Linked DNA regions of Homo sapiens: all the other regions are linked to region 1. The links are contacts of gene promoters, found by promoter capture Hi-C in blood cells and fetal thymus (Javierre and others, 2016). All regions are on one chromosome and are shown on one strand. Each heading gives the region's core, a stretch centred on a gene start or on the middle of the fragment in contact. The rest is flanking DNA. Distances are from core to core; before and after follow the strand shown. Region 1 holds the start of HSD17B4 (hydroxysteroid 17-beta dehydrogenase 4). Region 2 overlaps DMXL1 (Dmx like 1). Region 3 overlaps DMXL1 (Dmx like 1). Region 4 overlaps DMXL1 (Dmx like 1). Region 5 overlaps DTWD2 (DTW motif tRNA-uridine aminocarboxypropyltransferase 2). Region 6 overlaps DMXL1 (Dmx like 1). Region 7 overlaps DTWD2 (DTW motif tRNA-uridine aminocarboxypropyltransferase 2).

Region 1 (3,850 bases), core at 552-3,051:
TAAGAACAGAGAGTAGGTACAAACATCACATGCTTCAAAGGGCAAAAAGCAGAACAAAGATCATATGCTTCTGAGGGAACAGGACAAAGGGCAAAAGCAGAACTACTAATAAGGGTCCAACAAAGATCACAAGACAAAGGGCAAAAGCAGAGCTACTGATAAGGGTCTATGTTCAGCAGTGCATGTATTATCTTGATAAACATCTTAAACAACAGAAACAGGGTTCGAGAGCAGACAACTGGTCTGACCACAAATTTACCAGGGCCGGGTTTTTCCCCACCGTAGTAAGCCTGAGGGTACTGCAGGAGACCAGGGCATATCTCAGTCCTTATCTCAACCACATAAGACAGAGCAGCCGTTTATAGACCTCCCCCCAGGAATGCATTCCTTTACCAGGGTATTAATATTAATATTCCTTGCTAGGAAAAGAATTTAGTGATATCTTCCCTACTTGCACGTCCGTTTATAGGCTCTCTGCAAGAAGAAAAATATGGCTGTTTTTGCCCAACCCCGCAGGCAGTCAGCCCATATGGTTGACTTCCCTTGTTCCCTAAAAATTGCTGTTATTCTGTTCTTTTTCAAGGTGCACTGATTTCATATTGTTCAAACACACATGTTTTACAATCAATTTGTACAGTTAACACAATTATCACAGTGGTCCTGAGGTGACGTACACCTTCAGCTTACGAAGATAACAGGATTAAGAGATTAAAGTAAAGACAGGCATAAGAAATTATAAAAGTATTATTTGGGAACTGATAAATGTCCGTGAAATCTTCACAATTTATGTTCCTCTGCTGCGGCTCTAGCAGGTCCCTCTGTTTGGGGTCCATGACTTCCCGCAACATCCAATCAATCCTCCATAATGGGCAAAGTGATCTTTCCATAGTGTAAATGTGTTCCCACCACTCTCTGGAGTAATCCTACTTAAAACCGTTTTCAGCACAAAATTCAAACATCTAAACATGATCTTGCTGGCTTTGCTTTTGTGGCTTTACCCTCTTTCTCCCCAAACCTAGCTAGTGTTTGTGCTGCCTGTAATGCCCTTCTTTCTTTGCAGGGGTCGCCACTTTAGGTCCTGGTCCTCCTTCAGAAAGTTTTTCCTCTTTCTCCCCAGCGGGGATAGGGTCTGTTTATTTTGACACCATTAGCTCACTTACACACATTGGTCACAAGTCTAGGCTGCACCGTTATTGAAAGTTTACCATCTGACTCTGAGTAGCTTGAGGATCCTATCAAAACTCAGGAGATGCTCAGTAAATGTTGATTGAACTATGACTGTTCTCAACATACAAACGCAAGATCATTTAGGAACACTTGTCAAAATGTTTTTGCCCCTTGAGATTCTATTTTGGGAGGTAAGCAGTGGGGGTCCAGGACTCTGCATTTTGACAGTCCCCTGATGTTTGCATGTAGAAGTGCAGGGATTATTACACTGACAAATCTTTACCATCCCTAAGGGGGACTTTCCTTCCCAGGGGCTATCTCTGGAAGCCCCTCAAGGATAGGGGCCGCATGCTGTTTCTCTAGGTCAGCAACTAAACCCAGAAAACGTTTATTGAGTGAATGATGAAACGACAGGTGAATAGATGAACGCAAGGTGTCGAGTTAACTATTCTTCTACACAAGTCCTAGCAGCTCCCATTGCTTCCAGCCGCAGAAATGGCCCCTGGAAGGCAAGTCTTCCAGCGAGTGGAGTCACTCTTAACTACATTTCCCAGGATTCCAAGGGAGCCGCGCGCTCTGCGCTCATCTTCCTACCAGAAATCGGCAAGTCACTGACCCTCGTCCCGCCCCCGCCATTCCCCGCCTCCTCCTGTCCCGCAGTCGGCGTCCAGCGGCTCTGCTTGTTCGTGTGTGTGTCGTTGCAGGCCTTATTCATGGGCTCACCGCTGAGGTTCGACGGGCGGGTGGTACTGGTCACCGGCGCGGGGGCAGGTGAGCATGCGAAGGTTGGAGGCCGCGCCCCTTGCTGAGGCGCAGCTGGCTGCTCTTTTCGGGCCGGCATACGCGCGCAGCCGCAGCTGAGGTCACCCCGCTGAGGTGGTGGGGAGGGGAATGGTTATTCTTGAGGCACCGCATCTCTTGAGGAGGAAAGAGCCGGAAACACCTGGTCTCTCAAGCAGGTACAGCCCGCTTCTCCCCAGCACCCCGGTGTGGGCTTCCCAAGGTCCTGCCTGAGAGGAGAGGCCAGGCTGGGCTGCTGATTGCAAAACTGGGTGAAAGTTCTCCCTGACCCTTATCTGTGGGCATCGATTGTTACTCTTCCTGCAATTAACTCTCTTAGATCTTTGCCTAGTCTTTTAAAGGACTGAAAAGCCGCGAGGGGCGGGGGCTGGAATTCGCCCCCTGAAGCGCAGAGATGTCAGCTCCTGAAAAGTCATTCGGTCGTTCAGTGTTTGTTTCCCTCTGTCGTAAGATTTTAAGTTCGTGAGAGGACCTTCTTTAAAGAGGGCGTCTGATAAGAGCCCTTCCCCGTTGGAGTTTGTATGCTTAGCAAGTCACAATCTGTTCTCGAAATCCACTGGAGTCTTGGCAGAGGTTGTAAGCTCAAATGCGCACAGGGGTCAGGCGTATGATGGAGAAAGAAAATGGGAGTAGGATGGGCACATCTGAGGAACTGGAGAGCAGAGAATTCCGAAGTGGACCGGCCAGTGGGAAAGTTGCCTGTATTTCAGGAGCGGCAAAATGGAAAATTGTTATGTGAAATAGCCCCATTTTTTAAAGTACAAAAAATTAAAACAAACCATTCATACCAACATAGATGCTGTGCAGTGAGATTTTACATTAGTTTCTCACCAGTGGGTGACCTCTGTAACCTCCAAGTGCAGGGATCTTGACATTATGCACCTTTGATTCTCCACTGGTAGTACCTTATACCTGGAAAGGCCCTAATGCATGAATTATTTGAGTTATATATTAAACGTTACAAACTGGAATTCTGTCAATTAATTCCTATGTACTTTCATATCTGTATTGATAAAGTGGCTTCTTATGCTGCCTTTCAGAAAATGCTTTCAGTGTTGATGAATAGCCAAGTATTTTATACCCATAGCTGTCTGGTTATCTCTGCATGGGCATGTATTTGGGTGTAGTCATACCTTCTAAATGTTTTTAGGAAAACATTTTGTTTACACTTTGCTTTTATTGTAAATAATGTATTTTACAACGCTTGGTGTTTTAAATCTTTTTTGACAGCTCTTGGATAATTTTCATGCAGGAGGTCCAGGGATTACATTCTAAGACGTTTTTGCCATCGCTAAGGAGACTTTCCTTTTCAGGGGCTATATCTGAAAATCATTCAAGGATAGGGACTGCTTCTTTTGACACCATTAGCATACTTACACATGGTATGCAGTACATTTTACACCAGTACTCAGTACACTTACACAAGCACATACATCTGTATTTAAAACCAGTTCATGATATAGTGTGTAGTACAGGCAATGCATCCTGAAATTTATTTTCTATTCTGTTTTATTTATAAATTGTAATTGTAACCCACAAAATTGATTTTGTGAAACAATGAGTTGTGACTAGACAGTTATGAACTTAGCACCTGCTGTTCATAAACTGGTTAAATTCTCTCTTACCCATTCAGAGTTGATTAAATTTTTTTTTTTTTTCAGAGCTAAAGGTTTTACTCTGTACCCAGGCTGGAGTGCAGTGACCCGATCATGGCTCACTGTAACCTTGAACTCCTGGGCTCAAGTGATCCTTTTGCATCAGCTTCCAGACTAGCTAGGACTGTAGGCATGTGCCACCACGCCCAGCTAATTTTTAAATGTTTTCAAGAGATGGAGTCTCGCTTTGTTGCCCAGGCTGGTCTCAAACTCCTGGCCTCAAGTGA
Region 2 (3,642 bases), core at 278-2,777, 360 kb before region 1:
TGCCTGGCTAATTTTTTTTTGTATTTTTAGTAGAGACGGGGTTTCACCATGTTGGCCAGGGTGGTCTCGATCTCTCAACCTTGTGATCAGCCCGCCTTGGCCTCCCAAAGTGCTGGGATTACAGGCGTGAGCCACCGTGCCTGGCAGTCCTCTGTGTGTTTTTAAATAGCCTGTCTTTGAGCTCACTGATTCTTTCTTCTGCTTGATCCATTCTTCTATGGAGAGCCTCTAATGAATTTTTCAGTTCAGCAAATGTATTTCTCAGTTCCAAGATTTCTGTTTGATTTTTTAAAAATATTTCAATCTGTTTATTAACTTTTTCTGATAAATTTCTGAATTGCTTTTTGTCTTATCTTAGAGATGACTGAATAGTTGTTTCCTTAAAACTATTTTGAATTCTTGGTCAGAGAGCTCACATATCGCCTACTGGTTGGGGTCAGGTTCCTTGCTTTGTTTGGTGAGATCATGGTTCCCTGTTTGCTGCATTTATTTATTTATTTATTTATTTGACAGTGTCTTGCTCTGTTGCCCAGGCTGGAGTGCAGTGGTGAGATCACAGCTCACTGCAGCCTTAATTTACCAGCTCAAGTTGTCCTCCCATCTCAGCCTCCTTGGTAGCTGGGACTACAGGCACATGCCACCACACCCAGCTAATGTTTTTATTTTTGTTTTTTTGTAGAGGCAAGTCTTGCTGTGCTGCCCAGCCTGGTTTCAAACTCCTAGGCTCAAGGGATCCTCCTGTTTTGGCCTCCCAGTGTTGGGATTACAGGCGTGATCCACTGTGCTTGGCCTGCTGTTTCTTGTGGATGCACACCTATGTCTTTGCATTTATGGATTAGTTATTTATTCTAGTCTTTGGCTTGTTTTGGTTTATATTGGATATCTTTACTTGGAGATTCTTCACTGCTAAGCCACTGCCCCTTTTTAGGCTCCAGGTGTTGCCTTAAGTCCAGGTTCACCTTGGCTCTAGTAAACCATCAAAGGGCTGCCGTTCCTAAAGTGAGGAGATCCCACAGGAGGTATCTCAGCAGAGGGGGAATGCTGGCTAAGGGTTCATGTGCTGGAAACCTGTGGGACAAACCTCCTACAGGGTGGTGTTACTACTGAACAGCCTCTCTCATGTGGCATCTCCTTTGGCTGAGTTATGGAGCACTATTTTCAGGGATGCAGATAATAATACTGCCTGCCCTCTTTGTTTCTCCCTGTCCTCAGAGATATTTCTTTAGGCACTTGTGATGCTTCTTATGGGTTAGGGCTGGGACAGATATTCTGCTAGAGAACCCAATATGGTGGGGAAGCTGGCTGTTCACCATAATCTCCCTTTTTCCAGTGTAGAAACAATGTTTGGGGAAATTTTCTGTGCCCTAAGTGCTGGGCAGAATTGGGGGAGGGGTGTTGTGAATGTGGAAGTCTCTTTGTCTTTTTTCATTTCTGAAAATTGTCTTTTTTCATTCCTGTGGCCCCAGGAACTGTCTTGTCTTCATATGTGAGTTCTGGGTTATTTCTGGTGATACTTTCAGCACTGTATATTTGTTTTGGGTTTTCTTTTTCTTTTATTTAAGAAAAATTCTTTTTCTTTTTTTTTCACATAGGGTCTTGCTGTGTTGCCCAGGCTGATCTCAAACTCCTGGGCTCAAGCGATCTTTTCTCCTTAGCCTCCTGATTCGGTGGGATTACAGGTGCAATGTTGTATGAATCTGTTTTTCATTTTCTTTGGAGGCAAGTGAAACACCACCTTTTTGGAGCCACAGTTATTATTTTTTAAATAACAGCTTTATTGAAATATAATTTACATACCATAAAGTTCACCCTTTTAAAGTGTAAATTTTAGTGGTTTTAGTGTATTAACAATGTGTATTACCACAATCTGATTATAGAACATTTTCCTCACCCCCAAGAGAAATCCCGTGTCTATTACCAATCACTGTCTATTTGCCACTACCCCTAGCCACTGGCAGCTGCTATCTTACAGCCACTTACATTGCTTGTTTGCTTATTTGCACCAACTGCCTTACTGACTCTATGGATTTGTCTATTCTGGACATTTCATATAAGTGAAATAATAAAATATGTGGTCTTTTGTAAAGTTCATCCATGTTCTAGCATTTACTAGTACTTTTTATGGCTTAATAATATTCCATTGTATGGATATATACTATATTTTGTTTAGCCATTGACAGTTGATGGACATTTGAGTTGTTTCCCTTTGTGGCCATTATGAATAATGCTGGTATGAACATTGATGTACAGGTTTTTGTGTGGACATGTTTTCAGTTTTCTTGAATACAGGCATATCTTGTTTTCTTGCTCTTTCCCTTATTGCACTTCAAGTATTATGATTTTTACAAATTGAAGTTTTGTGGCAACCCTTTGTTGAGCAAATCTGTCAGCACTATTTTTCCAGTTGCATGCGCTCACTTTGTGTCTCTGTGTCGCATTTTGGTAATTCTCAAAATATTTCAAACTTTTTTTATTATTATTTTTGAACAGAGTCTTGCTCTGTCACCCAGGCTGGAGTGCAGCAACACGATCTTGGCTCAGTGCAACCTCTGCCTCCTGGGTTCAAATGAGCACGCCTGGCTAATTTTCATATTTTTAGTAGAGACTGGATTTCACCATGTTGGCCAGGCTGGTCTTGAACTCCTGACCTCAAGTGATCTGCCTGCCTTGGCCTCCCAAAGTGCTGGGATTACAGGTGTGAGCCACCATGCCTGGCCCCTTTTAAAATTATTATTATATCTGTTATGATGATCAGTGATCTTTGTTACTATTGTAATGGTTGTGGAATGCCAATGAACTGCGCTCAGACCTCCCTATTCACTGAGACACAATGATATAGAAATTATGAATAGTGACAACCCTACAGTGTCTTTTAAGTGTTCAGAAAGGAAGAGTTACACATCTCTTTCTTTAAATCAAAAGCTAGAAATGATTAAGTTTAGTGAGGAGGGTGTGTCAAGATGGGCCAAAACCTAGGCCTATTGTGCTAGTTAGCTGTTGTAAATGCAAAGGGAAAATTCCAAAGGAAACTATTAATTAAAGTTCTGCTCCATTGAACACATGAATGATAAGGAAGCAAAATAGCCTTATTGCTTATATGGAGAAGGTTTGAGTGGTCTGGCTAGAAGATCAGACCAGCCACAACATTCCTTTAAGCCAAAGCCTAATCCAGAGCAGGACCCTAACTCTTCTCAATTCCGTGAAGGCTGGGAGAGGTGAGGAAGCTGCAAAATTAAAGTTTGAAGCCAGCAGAGGTTGGTTCATGAGGTATAAGAAAAGAAGTCATCTTTATAACCTATAAGTGCAAGGTAAAGCAGCAAGCGCTGAGTGATGTAGAAGCTTCGGCATGTTATCCAGAAGATCTAGCTGAGATAATTGATGAAGGTGGCTATGTGAAAGAACAGATTTTAAAGCAGATGAAACAGCCTTCTGTTGGAAGAAGATGCCATCTAGGCCTTTCATAACTAGAGAGGAGAGGTCAATGCCTGGCTTCAAAGCTTCAAAGGACAGGCTGACTCTTGTTAGGGGCTAATGCAGTTGGTAACTTTAAGTTGAAGCCCATGCCCATTTATCATGCCGAGAATCCTAGAGTCTTTAAGAATTATGCTAAACCTAGTCTGCCTGTGCTCTACAAGTGGAACA
Region 3 (3,919 bases), core at 835-3,334, 340 kb before region 1:
GTCACAGGTCCAGCTAATATTAAGGGTTGGGAGACATAGACTCCCCCTCTTGATGAAAGATATGGCAAAGTCATATTACATGGAGGCATCAACACAGAGAGACATAATTTATTGGGAGCCATTTTTACCATTCTACGAAAGTGAGGGAAGGCACAGAGAGAGAAAGCATAAGATACATTATAATAAGGATTAGTATTTCACTGGGCTGAGTCTCAGTGGTGGTAAGGAGATAAGACCTTACCATGTTATAGGAGACCTTTAAAGTCATGCTAAAAATTTGAATTTAATTCTTTATGGTTGTCTAAAAACTATAGGTTTTCAAAAGAGGCTAGTCATACAAGATTTATGGTTTTGCGAGATTTGTCTGCTAGCAGTGAGTTAGAAGGGTCAGTGGCAAATGGAACAGGAGAAGGAGTGACCTTTGGAGAGGTTGTATTCTCATTAGTCTGGATGAGAAATAAGAACTTATTTCAATGCCTTTTCCATAGTAGGTGTTCAATTAATATTAAATGAATTAATGAATAGTGAAAGGTATACATGGATATGAAATGTGTTTAGGCAGTAGAATTGACATTACTTAACAACTGGATTTGAAATTACTTTGAGAGTATCTATGACCACACAAAGAGTAATATGTAGGAGTTAGAGGTAGTGGAACATAAGGTATTAATTGGATATGTGGACCTTGAGAAGCTTGTATATCATAAAGCAATATATAGACATTTGAATCTAGAACATAAAAAGTTATCTTTGGGGCTGGGCACGGTGGTTCAAACCTGTAATATCAGCACTTTAGGAGGCTGAGTGGGGAGAATTGCTTGAGCCCAGGAGTTTGAGACCAGCCTGGGCAACATAGGGAGACTCCATCTCTACAAAAAAATTTTTGAAAAGTTAGTCAGGCTTGGTGGCTGGCACCTGAGGTCTCAGCTATTCAGGAGGCTGAGGTGGGAGGCTTGTTTGAGCCCAGGAGGTTGAGGCTGCAGTGAGCCATGATTGTGCTACTGCTTTCTAGCCTGGGTGACAGAGCAAGAACTTGTCTCAGAAAAAAAAAAAGAAAAGTTATCTTTGAGACATAGAAGTCATCAGAGAGAGATATAAAACTATTGGTAAACTGATTAATGCCTTTCTTTTGTGTCCAAATTTAATATTTTATGTTGCCTAATTCATAAGATTTTCTGTTTTAGACTTTTTATGCTTTTTTCCTGCTTTACTATCCATAATATCCTGCTTTAATATCTGTAATTTAATATCTGTAATATCTAATTCTTAGAGTTTGAAATCAGTATACCATATTATATCTTACCTACTTTTGTTCCATTCCATACCTGGGATTAAGTTTATATTCTGTATTAAATTCTTAATCTTTTATGGGATATCTTAATGTTATCTTCAGTTTATATTAAGCAAAAGAAAAGTTGTATCTGTTGGTAAGTTCAAAAGTGGAATAATCAACATATTTAAATGGAATGTTTCATTACTTCTTGTGCTTTTTTTTGGCCCCTGTCTATGAAACCTTCTGTCTAGTTGCTCTACTATTTATTGAGCTTCTGCTTAGTGCCTGGCCTGTGCTAGAGACTTTGTGCATATTATATAGCTAATCCTTACAACAACTGTATTTAAACCTCAAATTTTATAGATGAGAAAATTGAAGTTCAGAAATTACCCAACTAGATCAAATTCACATGGCTAATTAAGCATCTTACTTGGGATTTAGACACAGGGATTTCTGATCTAAAGTCTATGCCAGAGATCCACTTTCCTTTTGAAACAAGAAAACGAGGGCGAAGCATGCTGGCCCATACCTGTAATCCCAGCAGTTTGGGAGGCTGAGTTGGGAGGATCGCTTGAGCCCAGGAGTTTGAGACCAGCCTGGGCAACATAGCAAGACCCTGTCTCTTCAAAAAATTTAAAAAAGTGATTGTTCTAGAAATACACAAATCTATAGTCTTAAATTGCCAAGGTGAATGCCATCTTTATTGTCAGCTTTTTTGCCAAAATTGCTTGTCTTTTGTATGGATGATAGCACGGCCTTCTACTTAATTCCCAAGTCATAGAGTTGGAATCTGTCCTTTAACCCTCTTGTTTTTTCTCTGTATTTATTTGGTGTCAAATCTTGACAATTCTTTTTTTCATTTTTTCTTGAGACAGGGTCTTGCTCTGTTGCCCAGGCTAGACTGCAGTAGCACAATCATAGCTCACTGCAGCCTTGACTCCCCAGGCTTGAGTGATCCTTTCACCTCAGCCTCCCTAGTGTCTGGTACTACAAGTGCGTGTCTAACTAATTTTTGTAATTTTTTTCTGTAGAGGCAGGGTTTCACTATGTTGCCCAGACAGGTCTTGAACTCCTGGGCTCAAGCAGTCCTCCCACCTTGGCCTCCCAAAGTGGTGGGATTACAGGTGTGAGCCACTGCACCCAGCCTTGACAATACTTTTTGAAATGGCTTTCAAATGCTTGCTTTTTAAATATTTGGTTGAGATCCTCATTATTTACCATCTGAATTTTTTTTCCTTTTTTTTTGAGGTGGTGTTTCGCTCTTGTTGCTCAGGCTGGAGTGCAATGGTGTGATCTCAACTCACTGCAACCTCTGCCTCCCGGGTTCAAGTGATTCTCCTGCCTCAGCCTCCTGAGTAGCTGGGTTTACAGGCATGCTCCACCATGCCCGGCTAATTTTGTATTTTTAGTAGAGATGGGGTTTCTCCATGTTGGTCAGGTTAATCTTGGACTCCCGACCTCAGGTGATCCACCCGCCTTGGCCTCCCAAAGTGCTGGGATTGCAGGTGTGAGCCACCGTGCCTGGCCTACCATCTGAATTTCTATAGTTAATTAACCAGGTTTAATAGTTTAATAGTTGGTTAACCACACACTTATGGTTTCCCTGATGTTGTCTGTCTCTGGAGTTGTTTTCTAAAAAGTATTTTTAACCTTCTTTGTATACTAGAGTCTTTGAAATTTCGATGTAAGTTACATATTATCTTTCTGGAAAAATGCACATATTGTATGTGTGATTTTTGTATGTTATCTCAATAGAGGGAGACTCACAGGCCTCTCCATCTGTTGACTGCCCCTCTTCCAGTTAAGCCCTCTTGTTCTGAAATACAGATCCAATTTTGTAACAACTCCCCCACAATCCCCCACTGCCACTTGAAAATCTTTTACTCCCAACTACCTATAACAAAGTCCAAACGCTGTGAACTTGAAAAACTCTTCACAGTCTCACCTTGGCATTTTTTCCGTAGTAATTTTTTTTCTAGCCTATCTGTGTACGTTATTCGTTAACCTATACCAGATTAAGAGGCATTCTTGGGAAAATACATAAATTTATATGTCTTCATGCCTTTGTTCATGTTAGGTTTCCTTTCTGAAATGCCTGTCTCTTCTGCTTATTCATCCATTAAGGACCAGGTTTCATTTCCTCACTTTTCCTGGCACTTTTACTACAGGTACACATTAATGTCTCCTTCCTGTGGGCTTCCATAAAGCTTTGCATGCATTTCTATCATGTATGTAACACTTCCACATGGTATCATATTTCCATGTCTTTCTGCTGAAATATGAACTCATGAAAAACGACAATGTTTTGTTTGTCATTGTATTTCCAATGTCTAGCACAGTGCCCGGGACAAAGAAGATGCTCATTAAATACTTGTTAAGTGAGAGATTATAAGATTTCTTCCTTTCTATCTCAAGCTATTTTAACGAAATTAAAATACAGCCTTCTCCTCCGTTCTTCAAAATTTTTTTTGATATTTGACTTTTTTTTAGAAGTTGTTTTATATGAAATTCTTGAGCATGTAAATTAAGTCACTATTAAATACCTAAATAATAAATGAGGAATAATATTTTTTTTAGGCAGTCGTCTTTTAACTGGTTCCAGCTATTTGCAACTCTGGTCCAATACTAACTTGGAGAAGCCAACTG
Region 4 (3,673 bases), core at 955-3,454, 270 kb before region 1:
CTCAGCCTCCCAAATTGCTGGGATTACAGGTGTGAGCCACCATGTCCTGCTTAATTCAGTATTTCTGTGTACCTTACTGAGACCAATCATGTGATCTCTCTCTTCAACCCAGTTTTCTAATATTTCTAAGTCCTAAGTCCTGCAGCAAAATGGCTTGAATATATTTTTTCCATTATAGTTTTTTTATTATGACTAAAAACACATGATATAAAATTTAGCAAGTGAACCATTTTTAAGTATATAGTTTAGTAGTAAGTCTATCATGTGGTGAAACAAATCTCTGTAACTTTTTCATCTTGCAAATCTGAAACTATACCCATTAAACAATTCCCCCACTTCATACAATCCCTGGTAATCACTATTCTACTCTGTTTCCAGGGATTTGATTACTTTATATACCTCATATAAGTGGAATTATATAGTGTTTTGTCTTTTTGTGACTGGCTTATTTCACCTAGTGTAATGTTCTTCCATGTTGTAGCTTGCGACAGAATTTCCTTCCTTTTTAATGCTGAATGTTCCGTTGTGTGTGTATACTCCATTCACATTTTCAATAAGTTTGTTGAGTTTGGGTTGAAATCTTATATACAGAACCGTGTTGTGGCATTCAGGGTGATTGAAAAGTAAGTACTACTCTAGGGCAGTGACTTCAGGCTTTTGAAGACATTACCTTATCCATAAAACATGCTTGACCAAATTCTCAATATATGTATATTGATGTCTACTACTATCGATCCAGATGTTAAACATTGACAAAATTTAGTTTCTTCTCCTTACTTTCCTTCTTCCCCTTCTTTCCTCTGCTTTCACCTCCACCTGCCCCCATCTCTCCTTTCTTCTTGTCCCTTCTCCTTTCCCTCTACTTCTTCCCCTGTCACTTTCTGCTCCTCTACCTCCTTCCCTTCTCCTTCTGCCCTTTCCCCCTATTTATCAAAAAATAAATCTAAGTAGAAGTTGTAGTATTTTCCTTCCATATTCTGGTGAATCATTTTGTACAACTACCGTGGAGACTCCCTTGCTCTGTGGTTTGGAGACAAATCACCACTTTCTATTAAGATATTTATTATTTCATTTTTATAGATATTTATGGAGCCATGTTCAAGATACGGTGTATGGTAATGATCCTAGGAAGACTTTGAGGGTCAGTCTTTCTAAAAGCTGGATAGTATCATCTTCCAGACTTTTTTTGTTTGTTTGTTTGTTTTTTTGAGACAGAGTCTCACTTTGTCACCCAGGCTGGAGTGCACTGGCATGATCCTGGCTCACTGCAACCTCTGCCTCCCAGGTTCAGGTGATTCTTGTACCTCAGCTTCCCAAGCAGCTGGGACTACAGGTGCACACCACGACACTTGGCTAATTTTTGTATTTTTAGTAGAGATGAGGTTTTGCCATTTTGGCCTGGCTGGTCTCAAACTCCTGGTCTCACGTGGTCTGCCTGTCTCAGCCTCCCAAAGTGCTGGGATTACAGGCATGATCCACTGTGCCTGGCCAGACTTTTTTTTTTTAATCACTAATCTTATTCTTTGATGATTAAGAAGTACCTTCAATTAATTGCTTCTTTAATCCTTTTATTTTTGGAATATTTGAAGTTTACTTGGAAAATCATGTTTTACATTTAATTTTGAGGATTTGTTTTATACTTAGTGTTCACGTACATTTGTAGTTCTCAAACTTTTTACCTGAAGATAAAGGTTAACATATACCTCTTAGGAGACTGAGGACTTAGACTGAATTGGCTTGCTGAAAGCAAGAAATAAATTTGAAATCTGTTTGTCTTAAACTTGCATGACTTTTATCTTTTCCATATTTGGGGGGCTCAGTTAGAAGGTCCAGACTAATGTGCCTCCTGAAGCTTCGTGTATACTCTGGCACACTCATGAATAGCTCTGTGGATATGGGTGCCTTAGATTGAGAAATAGAGAGTGAGACCTGCTGGTTACTTTAAGTTCAGTTATTTTGTTGTTTGTTTTGTTGTTGAGACAGGTTCTTGTTCTGTTGCCCAGGCTGGAGTGCAATGGTGTGATCTCAGCTCACTGCAACCTCCACCTCCTGGGCTCAAGTGATCCTCCCAAGTGGCTGGGACTACAGGCATGTGCCACCATGCCCAGCTAATTTTTCTATTTTTTTGTAGAGACTGGGTTTCACCATGTTGCCCAGGCTGGTCTTGAACTCTAAGTTCAGTTTTTAAAGAAATGACATTTAAATCTACATTCAGAATATTAATTTCATTGTGCTGATTTTAAATGATAAACTGAAAAGTAAATATTAACTTAATAACCTTCCCCTTATATTTTAGTTTTAATCACAGCAATATATGTGTGTGGTAACAAGTCTAGCAGTACAGAAGAATTTATAGGAAGGAATGTTGTCTTATTCCTCTGCTCCTCCCCTTCCCTATGTGTAGCCTGTTAGCCATTTCTCCATTTCTGTTTTGGGTTCTTTGGGGAGTTACTTTTATAATTCTTAGAAAACCACAGTGCAGATATTCTGAGGGTGAGGAAAGGATTGTTAAGGGAAGGAAGGTGTATTTGTCTGTACAGTCTACTATCTTGACATGGAAGCTTTGTTTTAAAAAGTACGGGAAGGGGAACATCACACACTGGGGCCTGTCGTGGGGTGGGGGGATGGGGGAGGGATAGCATTAGGAGATATATCTAATGTAAATGACGAGTTAATGGGTGCAGCACACCAACATGGCACATGTATACTTATGTAACAAACCTGCACGTTGTGCACATGTACGATAGAACTTAAAGTATAATTTAAAAAAAAAAAAGTGCTTCCTGGGAAAGCAACTGAAACTTATTTTTAAAATTTATGTCAGGACATTATTCTGTTTTTCCTGTGAATGCCTTAGTTTTTCTTCAGCCACTTTGTAGCCTCCCTATACCTCTTAAAATTCATAAATTCTATATTCAAGTTGCTCTTAATTTCTCCCTAATACTATTTTCTTTCTTCTGTTACTAATAAAGTAGCGGTTTTCCCATAATAGTAGAACCATAGGGTTAGTTTGCACCCAAGGAATGGCAAACGTTCTTGATATTTGATTATTAGCATTTTCAAAAACAACCAGTTGAACACCCAGCAGCTATAGTTTTTATCGGTGCCCCTAAGCTTCACGACCAATCTGACCCAGCAGGATTCAAGCATAAAATTGCCTTAAGTCTTCCTACAATTGGAGGACAAAGAAGAGGGAGTAACTACCCTATTGACAAGTCACAGGTCATTTCTTGTTTACTGGGTGGCATCGCTAAGGTCTTTTTAGTTAAAGCATCTAAAGTAATACACATTCATTACTGTGAAACTGCCGATTTTTTTTCCTTTGGTCCTGCTTCATTAAAAGTGTTGTTTTTGTTGTTGTTGTTTTTGAGATGAAGTCTTGCTCTGTTGCCCAGGCTGGAGTGCAGTGGTGCGATCTTGGCTCACTGCAACCTCCCCCTCCCAGGTTCAAGCAATTCTCCTGTCTCAGCCTCCCGAGTAGCTGGGATTACAGGCACGTGCCACCATGCCTGGCTAATTTTTGTATTTTTAGTAAAGGCAGGGTTTCACCATGTTGGCCAGGCTGGATCCTGACCTCAGGTGATCTGCCCACCTCTGCCTCCCAAAGTGCTGGGATTATAGGCGTAAGCCACCGCACCCAGCCAAAAAGTGTTTTAATAAGTGGTTTTATACT
Region 5 (3,774 bases), core at 554-3,053, 500 kb before region 1:
CATATTTGATGAAAAAAAGCCTAAACACTAACTGATTTGGGAGAGGCTGGATAAAGAAAAAGGAGCAATAACCTTGACCATGCCTTTAGCTCCAGACACCTCTTTAAGAGGAAATTGTTGGGCAGGTGGGGAAGGGCTAGTCACAGAAGGAAACTGTAAGCCGGACTGGGTGTGAGGAGAGGAGGTGATAGAAGGATTATAGGGTGGAGGAGCAGAAGCCGAGGAAGAAGTGGGACCTGGCTCGGCCTGGCAAGGGGCAGCCTGGGGAGGAAGAGAGAGGTCATATAGGTCTGTAGAAAAGGAGGATTCAAAGGACTCAGAGCTTGGGGTGGAGACTGAAGGAACAGACAGGAGAGAAAGAAGAAAGATTTGGGACGAGTTGCATTGGGAGCAGAGATTAGAAAGGGACTGATGTGAAAAAGAATGCCTAGACGTCAGGCACCTCAGACCATTTGCCCATTTTACGAGAAGAATTATCTAGATCTTGTAGGATGGAGAAATCAAAAGTGACATTTTCTGGCTATTTGGAAACACTGTCAAGTTTGTATTGGGGTCAAGCGGTGTTGCAGAAGAAAATAAGGCATTTAGGTTTTAGGTCAGGTGTGAGTTGAAGAGGTTTTAAGTTTTTGAGAACACAGGCTAAGGGAGAAGAAGGAGGAATGGAGGGTGGAAGGTTGCCCATAGTGAAGGAAGCAAGCCCAGAGAAAAGAGAGGGTAGAGACATGGAGAGAAGGGGTGGGAGGGTACTTGCCCCGCCTCGGGGAGGTAGTGCTTGCCACCAAGGTGAAGGATCAAGGCAGGCGTCCCCATGGTGATCAGACACCTCTGAAATGTGGCTGAATAATCAGGCAGGTGTCCCCGCGTGATTAAACACAAAGGAAAGACTGTCTTCCCAAGTCTGTGACTGGCACCGGAGTTTTAGGTTCACGGATAAAACGCGTCTCCTCTGTCTCTACCAGAAAAAGAAAGGAACTGAAATTAAGGGAAGGGAGAGATTGAAAGGTGGCGCAGAAATTGAAAGGAGAAAGGGGTTGAGGGATAGTGAGAGGACAGAGAAGACAGTAAAAAGACGCCGCTTACCCAATTTAAAATTGGTGAGATGTTCCTTGGGCTGGTTGGTCTGAGGACCAGAGGTCGTAGATGGATCTTTCTCACGGAGCAAAGAGCAGGAGGACAGGGGATTGATCTCCCAAGGGAGGTCCCCCAATCCGAGTCACGGCACCAAATGTTTCGACACCAAATGTCACGCGCGTCCGTGTGAAGAGACCACCAAAGAGGCTTTGTGTGAGCAATAAAGCTTTTTAATCACCTGGGTGCAGGCAGGCTGAGTCCAAAAAGAGTCAGCAAAGGGACATAGGGGTGGGGCCATTTTATAGGAGTTGGGTAGGTAGTGGAAAATTACAGTCAAAGGGGTTGTTCTCCGGCAAGCAGGGGCGGGGGTCATGAGGTGCTCAGTGGGGGAGCGTCTGAGCCGGGAGAAGGAATTTCACAAGGTAATGTCATCAGTTAGGGCAGGAATTGGCCATTTTCACTTCTTTTGTGATTCTTCACTTGCTTCATGCCATCTGGATGTAAACATGCAGGCTTGGGCTCAAAGGCCTGACAGGAACCTTTAAGAACATTTAGAAACTCTACTCCAAAAGTCTATTTAAAAGTTGGTTGTCTGGAAGTGGTTAGATTCTCAGCCCACAACAGCAGTCTTTAACCCATAAATCTGCAATATTTACAATATTATTTTAAGTACAGTATCCAACCAGGACCACATTGCTTATGCTCCAAGACAACGCCTCTCATCTTGTTTGCACGTCTCTGTTACTCCCAGGGCTGAATTCACTTTCTTTTATTTTAGTCGTATGTATTTCCTTTAGATTCCTATTAATACTTCCATTTAAACACTTGACCACATCATATGACAAAATTTTGTTTTCACATCTTCCTCTCACTTCTAGATGATGAACCCTCTAAGAGCAGAGTTTTCATTTAATTTTTGTATCCCCTAGTACAGTGATTCCCAAACTTTTGCTGTTATCAGAATCACCTAGAGGACTCATTAAACTAGACAGCTGAGCCCCAGCCCTCAGAGCTTCTGATTCAGTAAGCCTGAGAATGTGCATTTCTAACAAATTCCTAGGTGGTGATGATGCTGCTAGTGAGTAAGGAGTGAGGGGGTGAAGAATGTAAAGACCACAGTTTGATGTGCAAGGCTCTAGAGGTGTCCACACCAGTGGGTTTTATTTTTCAAGTGACTTGAATTCATTCGTATCTACATCCTGCCCACTTACCCATTCCTGTCTACATCTGAAGGTTGGCAAAGCTTGATGAACTTTTGTGAGAAGTAGTAATCAAAGAATAATAAACAACAAAGCTATGGACAAAATGGCTTACCCAAAACCCTTCCCCCTGCATGAAAATTTGACCTTCCCTTAACTAACGAGCTCTGTTACCCTGGCAACATGATAACTATATTGCTAAGCAACACTGTATGTGATTTAAATGACAACTGACTGGTAGATTGCATATGGACTAGAGACCTATAAAGACCCTATGGGGACACCATACTTTGGACTTCCCTAAATTGGAACCCTAGAAACTTGCTAGAGAGTTGTTACAAAAGATGTTGGCTCCTGAGAGCATAAAGTTATTAGGCTACCTTATCTGCCTAGTGTGGAACATATCACCTTCCACCTGAGCTGGACTGCTATGCCAGACTGCCACAAGGATGCCAGCAGAAAAGGGTCATCTAAGGTTGCTCTACAATGCCACAAATGCAAATTTGTGGCTCCTGGCCTATATCTTTCTGGTATTAGGTGTGGCCTAAAGTAGTCTTATGCACCTGAGTGTCTAGCAACTGGTGCTCTGCCTGGTATCTTATCCCAGATATCTGCAGAGCTTAAAGATTCACTTAGACCAGGTCTTTGCTCCAATGCCCCATTCTAAAATAATCCAAGGCAAGGCATGGTGGCTCATGCCTGTAATCTCAGAATTTTGGGAAGCTGAGGAGAAAGGATCACTTGAGCACAGGAATTCGAGATCAGCCTAGGAAACATAGCAAGACCTCATCTCTACTAAAAATTTAAAAATTAGCCAGACACGGTGGTGCACAGCTGTAGTCCCAGCTACTTGGGAGGCTGAAACAGGAAGACTGCTCATACCCAGGTGTTTGAGGATGCAGTGAGCTATGATCACACCACTGTACTCCAGCCTGGGCAACAGAGAGAGAAAAACCCTAGCAATGAATCAATCAATCAATCAAATCATCCACCTTTTCTCTCACTATCACTCTCTATCCCCTTATTCTGACTGATTTTTCTTCACAGCATTTTACTACTATTTGACATTATGTTAGCTGAATGTGGGTTTCCTTCTCTAAAATGTAAGCTACAGGGAGGCAAGGACTTAGCCTACCTTTTTCACTGCTATATCCCCAGCACCTGGCATAGTAGGTGCTCAATAGATATTGCTGAATACATAAAGGATTTTTTTCTTTTTTTGAGACAGGTGTCACTCTGTCACCCAGGCTGGAGTGCAGTGGCATGATCTCAGTTCACTGCAACCTCCGCCTCCCAATTCAAGCAATTCTCATGCCTCAGCCTCGTGAGTAGCTGAGGTTACAGGTGTGCACCACCACATCTGGCTAATTTTTGTATTTGAATAATTAATGTTATTTTTGGATTTTTTTTTGTAGAGGTGAAGTTTCTCAAATTCCTGGCCTCAAGTGATCCACCTGCTTCGGCCTCCCAAAGTGCTGAAGTTACAGGCGTGAGCCACCGTGCC
Region 6 (3,745 bases), core at 1,091-3,590, 280 kb before region 1:
TAAAGCAACCTATCAGAGAGAATGATGGTAAGCTGCACTTCTAAGATGTTAATGATTAAGAATATTATTGGTAATTGCTACATGTGCAGATCACTCTATTAGGTGGTAAGGGTAATACAAACAAATTGAATTCATGGTCTTTATAACAGTTTTTGGTTGGTTGTTTGGTTTTTTTCTCCAGAAAGATAAATCCTTTGAAAACAAAGAACGTTGGATTTTCTGTTTTTACAAAATAGATTTACATAAATATTGAACATAAATATTGTCAACACTTGAATATAAACATTTTGAAGAAATACTGTTATAAAGCCAGTTTTTAAATCTTAGGTTGAATTTAGTGTGTTTGTCAATCAGTTTTAGAATTCTTACAGTGAAAAATGTGTTCAGTGTAAAAACAAGTTGACTTAAGTGATGTGATAAGAAAATCTTTAGCTAGATGAACTTTTGACTGTCTTGTTATGAACTGGTAGAGCTTATGTACTCTTTTGAGTCTGCTAGTACCTTTTCTTTTAGAAATCCTCTTTGCTAAAGCTTTCTTAGAGGCCAGTATAAAATGGAATTTTTTATATAGATGCATATAAAAATGAGATTTACTTTTCAGATATGTTTTCATAGATTGAATTGTGTTTGGTAGCTGATAAAATAGGTATTATATTATTTGGAATACTAATTGGAAAAGGGTCTAGTTCATAGATTTTTATGTGCTATCATTTAATCAGGAAGTGGCCTTCGCCTTACTTCCTAAACCTTTGAGAAAGCTGTGTGACTCATTTGTTTAAGTCTCCTAGCCATTTAAGCTAAAGATTTTCAAACTAGCCTCTATGTAATGAAGGGAAAATGTAAATGCCTTTTCCAGCCACTTTCTTTTTTTAGTGTTTTTATTTAAAAAAAAAAAAATTAGACACAGTATCTTGCTTTGTTGCCCTGGCTCATCTCAAACACCTGGCATCTAGCTGTCCTCCCACCTCAGCCTCCCAAAGTCTGGAATTACAGGCATGAGCTACTGTGCCTGGCCCCCTTTCCCTTTCCCTTCCTCTTTCCTTTTGTCTTGTCTTTTCTCTTTTCTTTCTTTTTCTTCTTTCTTGAGGTGGAGTCTCACTCTCACCCAGGCTGGAGTGCAGTGGGGCTATCTCAGCTCACTGCAGCTTCCACCTCCCAAGCTCAAGCAATCTTCCCACCCCAGCGTCCTGAGTAGCGGGGACCACAGGTGTGTGCCACCATGCCTAGCTAATTTTTTTGTATTTTTGCTGGAGATGGGGTTTCACCATGTTGCCCAGGGTGGTCTTGAACTCCTGAGCTCAAAGTGCTGGGATTACAGGCATGAGCCACCACACCTGGCCCTGGCCCACTTTCTTATACTTAACACATATTCATGTAAAAATTGTATTTTGATTTGGGACTAGTACATTTTTACATACTTTTATTATGAATTAAACTTGTATTCTTCTAGAAGAAAATTGCAAAAAATAATAGCGGCTTGGACCAGAATGATTGGAATGGAGGCAGAGAGATGTGGTTGGATTTGGGATATGATTTTAAGATTGATTACATAGGACTGGATTTGATAAGGAGTGTAAAGGAATTAGGAGTCAAAGGTAACTCCTGGCTTTTTAGATTGAACAATAGGTAGATGATATGGGGAAGAATTGTTTTAGATCATGGAGCTTTCTCTGATAAGGTGAACTTTGATCAGAGAACTGGTTGAAATGAGTGAGTTAATCAGTATAGATATAGGTAAAGAGTGGTTTGGGTCAAGGGCACACTAAATAAAAAGGCCCCAAAGCAAGAGTTTATACACATAAGTAAAAATGAAATGTAGGCCTTTGGATATAGGAGTTTAGGTTTTCAGTGTGAAGTTGGGACTGGAGATAGAGATGATGTCCAAGTTATCAGTGTGTAGATGTTATTGAAAGTCATGGGGACTATATGAATTCAACTCAGGGAATATAGATAGAAAATAAGTCAGCAGTTGAACCCTAGGAGACTCTCAGTGTTCAAAGGTAGAGAAGATGAGGAGGACTAGCAAAGCAGACTGAGGAGAAGTGTTCAGGGAAGTAGGAGAAAAAGAACTAAGAGTCTATAACTGGACGTTTTAAATTATCCTAGAATATTACCTGAAGAGACTTGTTTCAATGGGAAAGCATCATAATCTTTGTTTTCCTACTTTGTTAGAACATGTTCATTATAAATGTGTTGTTGTCTCTTCAGTGCCATGGATCATTGTGGCCTATTAGTAAAATTTTGTCAAAAGACTCTTTAGATAAAGGTGTCATAGTAGATAGAGAAAAGACACTACAATAGAAACACACAGTTCATAACTTTTCTTGGCTCATAAAATGAATTTACTTTCAGATCAAGTTTTATCAGCCAGTAATCCTACAGTTTTTAATTTCTACAATTATCTAAGAACACATCCTCTTTTGCTGAGACGTCATTTTGGATCATCTGATACATTTTCCACACATATGAGCCTAACAGGAAAAAGTGGACTGGCAGGAACAATTAATTTAAGTGAAAGACGTTTATTTTTTACCACTGCCAGTGCTCATTTAAAAGCTGGCTGCCCAATGTTGGCTTTGGAAGTATTATCAAAGATGCCTAAAGTCATCAAGAAAACAAGACCTTTTTATAGGGCTTCTAGTTTTCTGGATACTAGTAAAGACTGTTCTCCTTCTTCTCCATTAAAGTTGGATGCAAGGGAAGATAAGTCTTCTGCTGTTGATTGGTCACAGTCACTGATAAATGGTTTTGGATCTTCTTCAGAGGGTTCCTCAGAGAAGCAATCAAACTCCACTCTTTCTTTTGACTGGAGCCAACCAAGTGTTGTGTTTCAGGATGACTCTTTAGAGTTAAAATGGGACAGTGATAATGATGAAGAAAATGAGGATGTCCCTATTTCAATGAAAGAACTAAAACCTTTACAGAGAAAAACAGATAAAAAGTTGGATGACATAAGTTCTAACTACACAGAATCTTTCAGCACACTAGATGAAAATGACCTTTTAAATCCATCAGAAGATATAATTGCAGTTCAGTTAAAATTTAGAGCATGTTTAAAGATTCTCACAGTAGAACTTCGTACTTTATCTACTGGCTATGAAATAGATGGTGGAAAATTGCGTTACCAACTATACCACTGGCTTGAAAAAGAGGTGATAGCTCTTCAGAGGACTTGTGACTTTTGCTCAGATGCTGAAGAACTACAGTCTGCATTTGGCAGAAATGAAGATGAATTTGGATTAAATGAGGATGCTGAAGATTTGCCTCACCAAACAAAAGTGAAACAACTGAGAGAAAATTTTCAGGAAAAAAGACAGTGGCTCTTGAAGTATCAGTCACTTTTGAGAATGTTTCTTAGTTACTGCATACTTCATGGATCCCATGGTGGGGGTCTTGCATCTGTAAGAATGGAATTGATTTTGCTTTTGCAAGAATCTCAGCAGGTATGTAATTTACTTGATAGTCAAAAATGGTACATGTCTAAAACTGTTTTTGGTGTTTCTTTTTTGGTTTTGAATACTAAGACTTGATTTTCTTTATTACGGTTGCTTTAGGGAAAGCTCCCTTTTGTGTGGTCCTTCATATTATGAATTATAGAGTTGTGTATTTATAGTAGTTACAGACGATTCAGTATCAGGCCTTATGACCTGCTTAATTCACACTCCAAAGTGTTGTCTGAATGCCTTTGTAGGGTGACAGACTTCTTATTGCAAGAGGATATTGTCTTATTTTTTTTTTCCCTCTC
Region 7 (3,794 bases), core at 1,169-3,668, 480 kb before region 1:
AGACTACATTAACCAAATGATCTATGTTAATTTCGCCAAGAATAATGCATATTGATATCATGTACCTCTGATATATTTGCTAAAAATATAGTATTTTTAGACTATTAATTTGTAGCTAGTCTTACCAAAAATGTATAACCTTGCTGTAATCATGAGAAATCATAAGTCAAACCCAACTTGAGAGACATTCTACAAAATAACTGACCAGTATTCTTCAAAAGTAACAAAATCGTGAAAAAAAAAAAAAGAAAAACCTAAGGAATCATCACAAACTAGAGAGGACTAACAAGACATGACAATTAATGCAATGTGGGATGCTGAGTTAGATACTGAACCAGAAAAAAATGAACTTGAGTGGAAAAACTGGTGAATTCTGAACATAGTTAACAGTACTGTACCAGAAGCAGCTGCAGTCAGTGGCTATCACAGAGAAGAATGAAAACGGCAAATGAAATTCTGAACCTTCAACTGAGGTATCCAGGTTCTCACACTGGGACTCACTAGGTGGATGGCTAAACCCACAGAGAGTGAGGAAAAGCAGGGTGGGGAGACGGCCCCTTCTGAAGCCAGGGAAGGCCCTACCCCAGCCAAGGGAGGCAGTGAGTGTGCGACCCCACCCAGGAAACCACGTTTTTCCCATAGATCTTTGCAACCTGCAGATCAGGAGATCCCCCCCTGAGCCCACACCACCAGGACCTTGGGTCCAAAGCATAGCGCTATGCGGAGTCTCAACAGAGTGGCTCTGGTATGCACAGAGACCCAGGAATTTTGCATACTCTGGCCCTGGGAATTCCAGCAAGGCGGGAAATCCATCCATGCCTTCCCCTAGGAAGGGGGCTGAATCCAGGGGGCCAAGCAGCATCGTTCTGCAGGCCCCACTCCCATGGCACCTCACATGTTAACACCCACTGGCTTGGAATTCCAGCTGGCCAGTGGCAGGAAGCTGGAGACTGCCTGAAATGAACCAAGTTCCTGAGGGGCTTGGGAGTGGGGGCAGCTGCCATCTCTGTGGTTCCAGCCTGCCGGCTCCTCTGGGGAGTCCAGGAGGTCTGGAACGGGAAGAGTTTTCCACAACACAGCAGACTGTGGTCAGACTGCTCCTCTAAGTGGGACCCTGCTTCATCCCTCCTCACTAGGTGGGGCTTCCCTGCAGGAATTTCAGCTACACTAGCCTGAGTTATATGAACAGATCTCTGATCACTCCCTGGGACTGAGCCACCAAGAGGGGAGGGGCGGGGGGGAAGCGGTGACTGTATTTGCAGTTCAGCCAACTTAGCCTTTCCAGCCTGCTGGCTCTGGAGAGTCCAGGCAGTCTGTACAAGGAGGATTCCCCTCAGCTCAGCACACCCACTCAGCCAAAGGGCAGCCAGACTGCTTCTTTAAGCAGGTCCCTGATCCTGTTCCCCCTGACTGGGTGAGAACTCCCAGTAGGGGCTCCAGACACCTTCTACAGGAGCATTCAGGCCAACATCTGTTCAGTGTGCCCCTGGGACAAAGCTCCGAGAAGAAAGAGGAGGCTGTCACCTTTGCTGTTTTGCAGCCTTCACCGGTAATATCTCCAGGTGTGGGAGGACCAAGGAGATTAGGGTCTGGAGTGGAACCCCAACAACCACAGCAGCCCTATGGAAGAGTGACCTGTTAAAAGAAAAACAAACGAACGGAAAACAATAACAACAACAATAACATCAACAAAGAAGATCCCACAAAAACACCATTCAAAGGTCAGCAACCTCAAAGATAGAAGGTAGATAAGCCCACAAAGATGAGGAAGAATCAATGCAAAAACGCTGAAAACTCAAAAATCCAGAGTGACTCCAGATGACTGCAACACCTCTCCAGCATGGGTACAGAACTAGGCTGAAGCTGAGATGACTGAAATGACAGAAGGAGGCTTCAGAAAATGGGTAATAAAAAGCTTCACTGAGCTAAAGGAGCATGTTCTAACCCAATGCAAAGAAGCTAAGAATCATGATAAAACAATACAGGAGTTGATAATGAGAACAGCCAGTTTAGAGAGGAACATAAATGACCTGATGGAGCTGAAAAACACAATATAAGAAATTCACAATGCAATCACAAGTATCAACAGCAAAATAGACCAAGCAGAGGAAAGAATCTCAGAGCTGTAAGACTATCTTTCTAAAACAGGACAGAAAGACAAGAATAGAGAAAAAAGAATGAGACTGAGCACAGTGGCTCACGCCTGCAATCCCATCACTTTGGGAGGCCGAGGCAGGCAGATCACCTGAGGTCAGGAGTTCGAGACCAGCCTGGCCAACATGGCAAAACCCTGTCTCTACTAAAAACACAAAAATTAGCCAAGCATGGTGGTGTGCACCTATAATTCCAGCTACTCAGGAGGCTGAGGCACAAGAATCACTTGAACCCGGGAGGTGGAGATTGCAGTGAACCAAGATTGCACCACGGCACTCCAGCCTGCTAATAAAGCGAGACTCTGTCTCAGAAAAAGAAAAAAGGAAAAAAGAAAAGACGATGAACAAAAACTCTGAGAAATACAGTATTACGGAAAAGGACCGAACCTACAACTGACTGGGGTACCTGAAAGAGACAGGAAAATTGGAAACAAGTGGGAAAACATACTTCAGGATCTCATCCAGGAGAACTTCCCCAACCTAGCAAGACAAGCCAACATTCAAATTCAGGAAATTCAGGGAACCCCAGAAAGATACTCCACGAGAAGATCTACCCCAAGACACGTAATCAACAGATTCTCCAAGGTCAAAATGAAAGAAAAAATGTTAAGGGCAGCCAGAGAGAAACGCCAGGTAACCTACAAAGAGAAGTCCATCAGACTAAAAGCAAAACCCTCAGTGGAAACCCTATTAGCCAGCAGAGATTAGGGGCCAATATTCAACATTCTTAAAAGAATTTCCAGCCCAGAATTTCATATCTGGCCAAAATAAGCTTAATAAGCAAGGGAGAAATAAGATCCTTTTCAGACAAGCAAATGCTGAGGGACTTCGTCACCACCAGGCCTGCCTTTCAAGAGCTCCTGAAGGAAGCACTAAATATGGAAAGGAAAAATCATTACCAGTCACTACATAAATCCACTGAAGTACGCAAATCAGTGACACTACAAAGCAACCACATAAACAAGTCTGCAAAATAACCAGCTAGCTTCATGATGACAGGATCAAACTCACACATAACAATATTAACCTTAAGTGTAAATGGCCTAAATGCCCTAACTAAAAGACACAGAATGGCAAGCTGGATAGAGTCAAGATCCATCTGTATGCTATCTTCAAGAGACCCATCTCACATGCAAAGACACATATAACCTCAAAATAAAGGGATAAAGGAAAATTTACCAAGCAAATGGAAAACAGAAAAATGCAGGGGTCACAATTCTAGTTTCTGACAAAACAGACTTTAAACCAACAAAGATCAAAAAAGACAAAGAAGGGCGTTATATATGGTAAAGGGTTCAGTTCAACAAGGAGAGCTAACTATCCTAAATATATATGCACCCAATACAGTAGCACCCAGATTCATAAAGCAAGTTCTTAGAGATCTACAAAGAGACTGACTCCCACACAATAATAGTGAGAGACTTTAACACCCCACTGACAATATTAGACAGATGATCAAGACAGAAAATTAACAAAGATATTCAGGACCTGAACTTAGCTCTGGATCAAGCAGACCTGATAGAGATCTACAGAACTCTCCATCCAAAAATAACAGAATATATATTTTTCTCCTAGACACATGGCACTTACTCAAAAATTGATCACATAATTGGAAATCACTCCTCAGCAAATGCAAAAGAA

Evidence for each region. Contacts are between HindIII fragments. The CHiCAGO score rates a contact against its expected background, and 5 or more counts as called.
Region 2: a fragment that was not itself captured here is called in contact with the fragment with the promoter of HSD17B4 in region 1 in 6 of 17 cell types (non-activated CD4 T cells, total CD8 T cells, activated CD4 T cells and 3 more); the score reaches 9.7 in non-activated CD4 T cells.
Region 3: a fragment that was not itself captured here is called in contact with the fragment with the promoter of HSD17B4 in region 1 in 5 of 17 cell types (total B cells, activated CD4 T cells, non-activated CD4 T cells and 2 more); the score reaches 8.3 in total B cells.
Region 4: a contact is called between a fragment that was not itself captured here and the fragment with the promoter of HSD17B4 in region 1, in 5 of 17 cell types (non-activated CD4 T cells, activated CD4 T cells, naive CD8 T cells and 2 more). The highest score is 7.3, in non-activated CD4 T cells.
Region 5: a contact is called between a fragment that was not itself captured here and the fragment with the promoter of HSD17B4 in region 1, in 1 of 17 cell types (activated CD4 T cells). The highest score is 5.6, in activated CD4 T cells.
Region 6: a contact is called between a fragment that was not itself captured here and the fragment with the promoter of HSD17B4 in region 1, in 8 of 17 cell types (total B cells, activated CD4 T cells, total CD4 T cells and 5 more). The highest score is 9.0, in total B cells.
Region 7: a contact is called between a fragment that was not itself captured here and the fragment with the promoter of HSD17B4 in region 1, in 7 of 17 cell types (non-activated CD4 T cells, total CD8 T cells, naive CD8 T cells and 4 more). The highest score is 12.8, in non-activated CD4 T cells.

The regions. Positions count from the first base shown.
Region 1 is chr5:119,450,696-119,454,545 of GRCh38, forward strand. HSD17B4 (hydroxysteroid 17-beta dehydrogenase 4) reads left to right here and starts at 1,802. Exons shown (of 24, transcript NM_000414.4): 1 at 1,802-1,938. The coding sequence starts at 1,881. RefSeq lists an enhancer at 1,903-1,952. The HindIII fragment of the contact is 7,394 bases long and covers 1-3,850 here.
Region 2 is chr5:119,090,719-119,094,360 of GRCh38, forward strand. All of the region lies in intron 1 of DMXL1 (Dmx like 1), which reads left to right. Among named protein-coding and RNA genes, the nearest start is that of DMXL1, 21 kb to the left of the region's middle. The HindIII fragment of the contact is 3,620 bases long and covers 1-3,337 here.
Region 3 is chr5:119,106,301-119,110,219 of GRCh38, forward strand. DMXL1 (Dmx like 1) reads left to right here. Exons shown (of 44, transcript NM_001290321.3): 5 at 3,851-3,919. Among named protein-coding and RNA genes, the nearest start is that of DMXL1, 37 kb to the left of the region's middle. The HindIII fragment of the contact is 2,787 bases long and covers 692-3,478 here.
Region 4 is chr5:119,184,313-119,187,985 of GRCh38, forward strand. All of the region lies in intron 28 of DMXL1 (Dmx like 1), which reads left to right. Among named protein-coding and RNA genes, the nearest start is that of MIR5706, 32 kb to the left of the region's middle. The HindIII fragment of the contact is 709 bases long and covers 1,851-2,559 here.
Region 5 is chr5:118,951,042-118,954,815 of GRCh38, forward strand. All of the region lies in intron 1 of DTWD2 (DTW motif tRNA-uridine aminocarboxypropyltransferase 2), which reads right to left. Among named protein-coding and RNA genes, the nearest start is that of MIR1244-2, 22 kb to the right of the region's middle. RefSeq lists an enhancer at 1-554. The HindIII fragment of the contact is 1,017 bases long and covers 1,296-2,312 here.
Region 6 is chr5:119,167,838-119,171,582 of GRCh38, forward strand. DMXL1 (Dmx like 1) reads left to right here. Exons shown (of 44, transcript NM_001290321.3): 23 at 1-27; 24 at 2,353-3,443. Among named protein-coding and RNA genes, the nearest start is that of MIR5706, 15 kb to the left of the region's middle. The HindIII fragment of the contact is 3,622 bases long and covers 530-3,745 here.
Region 7 is chr5:118,967,964-118,971,757 of GRCh38, forward strand. All of the region lies in intron 1 of DTWD2 (DTW motif tRNA-uridine aminocarboxypropyltransferase 2), which reads right to left. Among named protein-coding and RNA genes, the nearest start is that of MIR1244-2, 4.7 kb to the right of the region's middle. The HindIII fragment of the contact is 1,010 bases long and covers 1,914-2,923 here.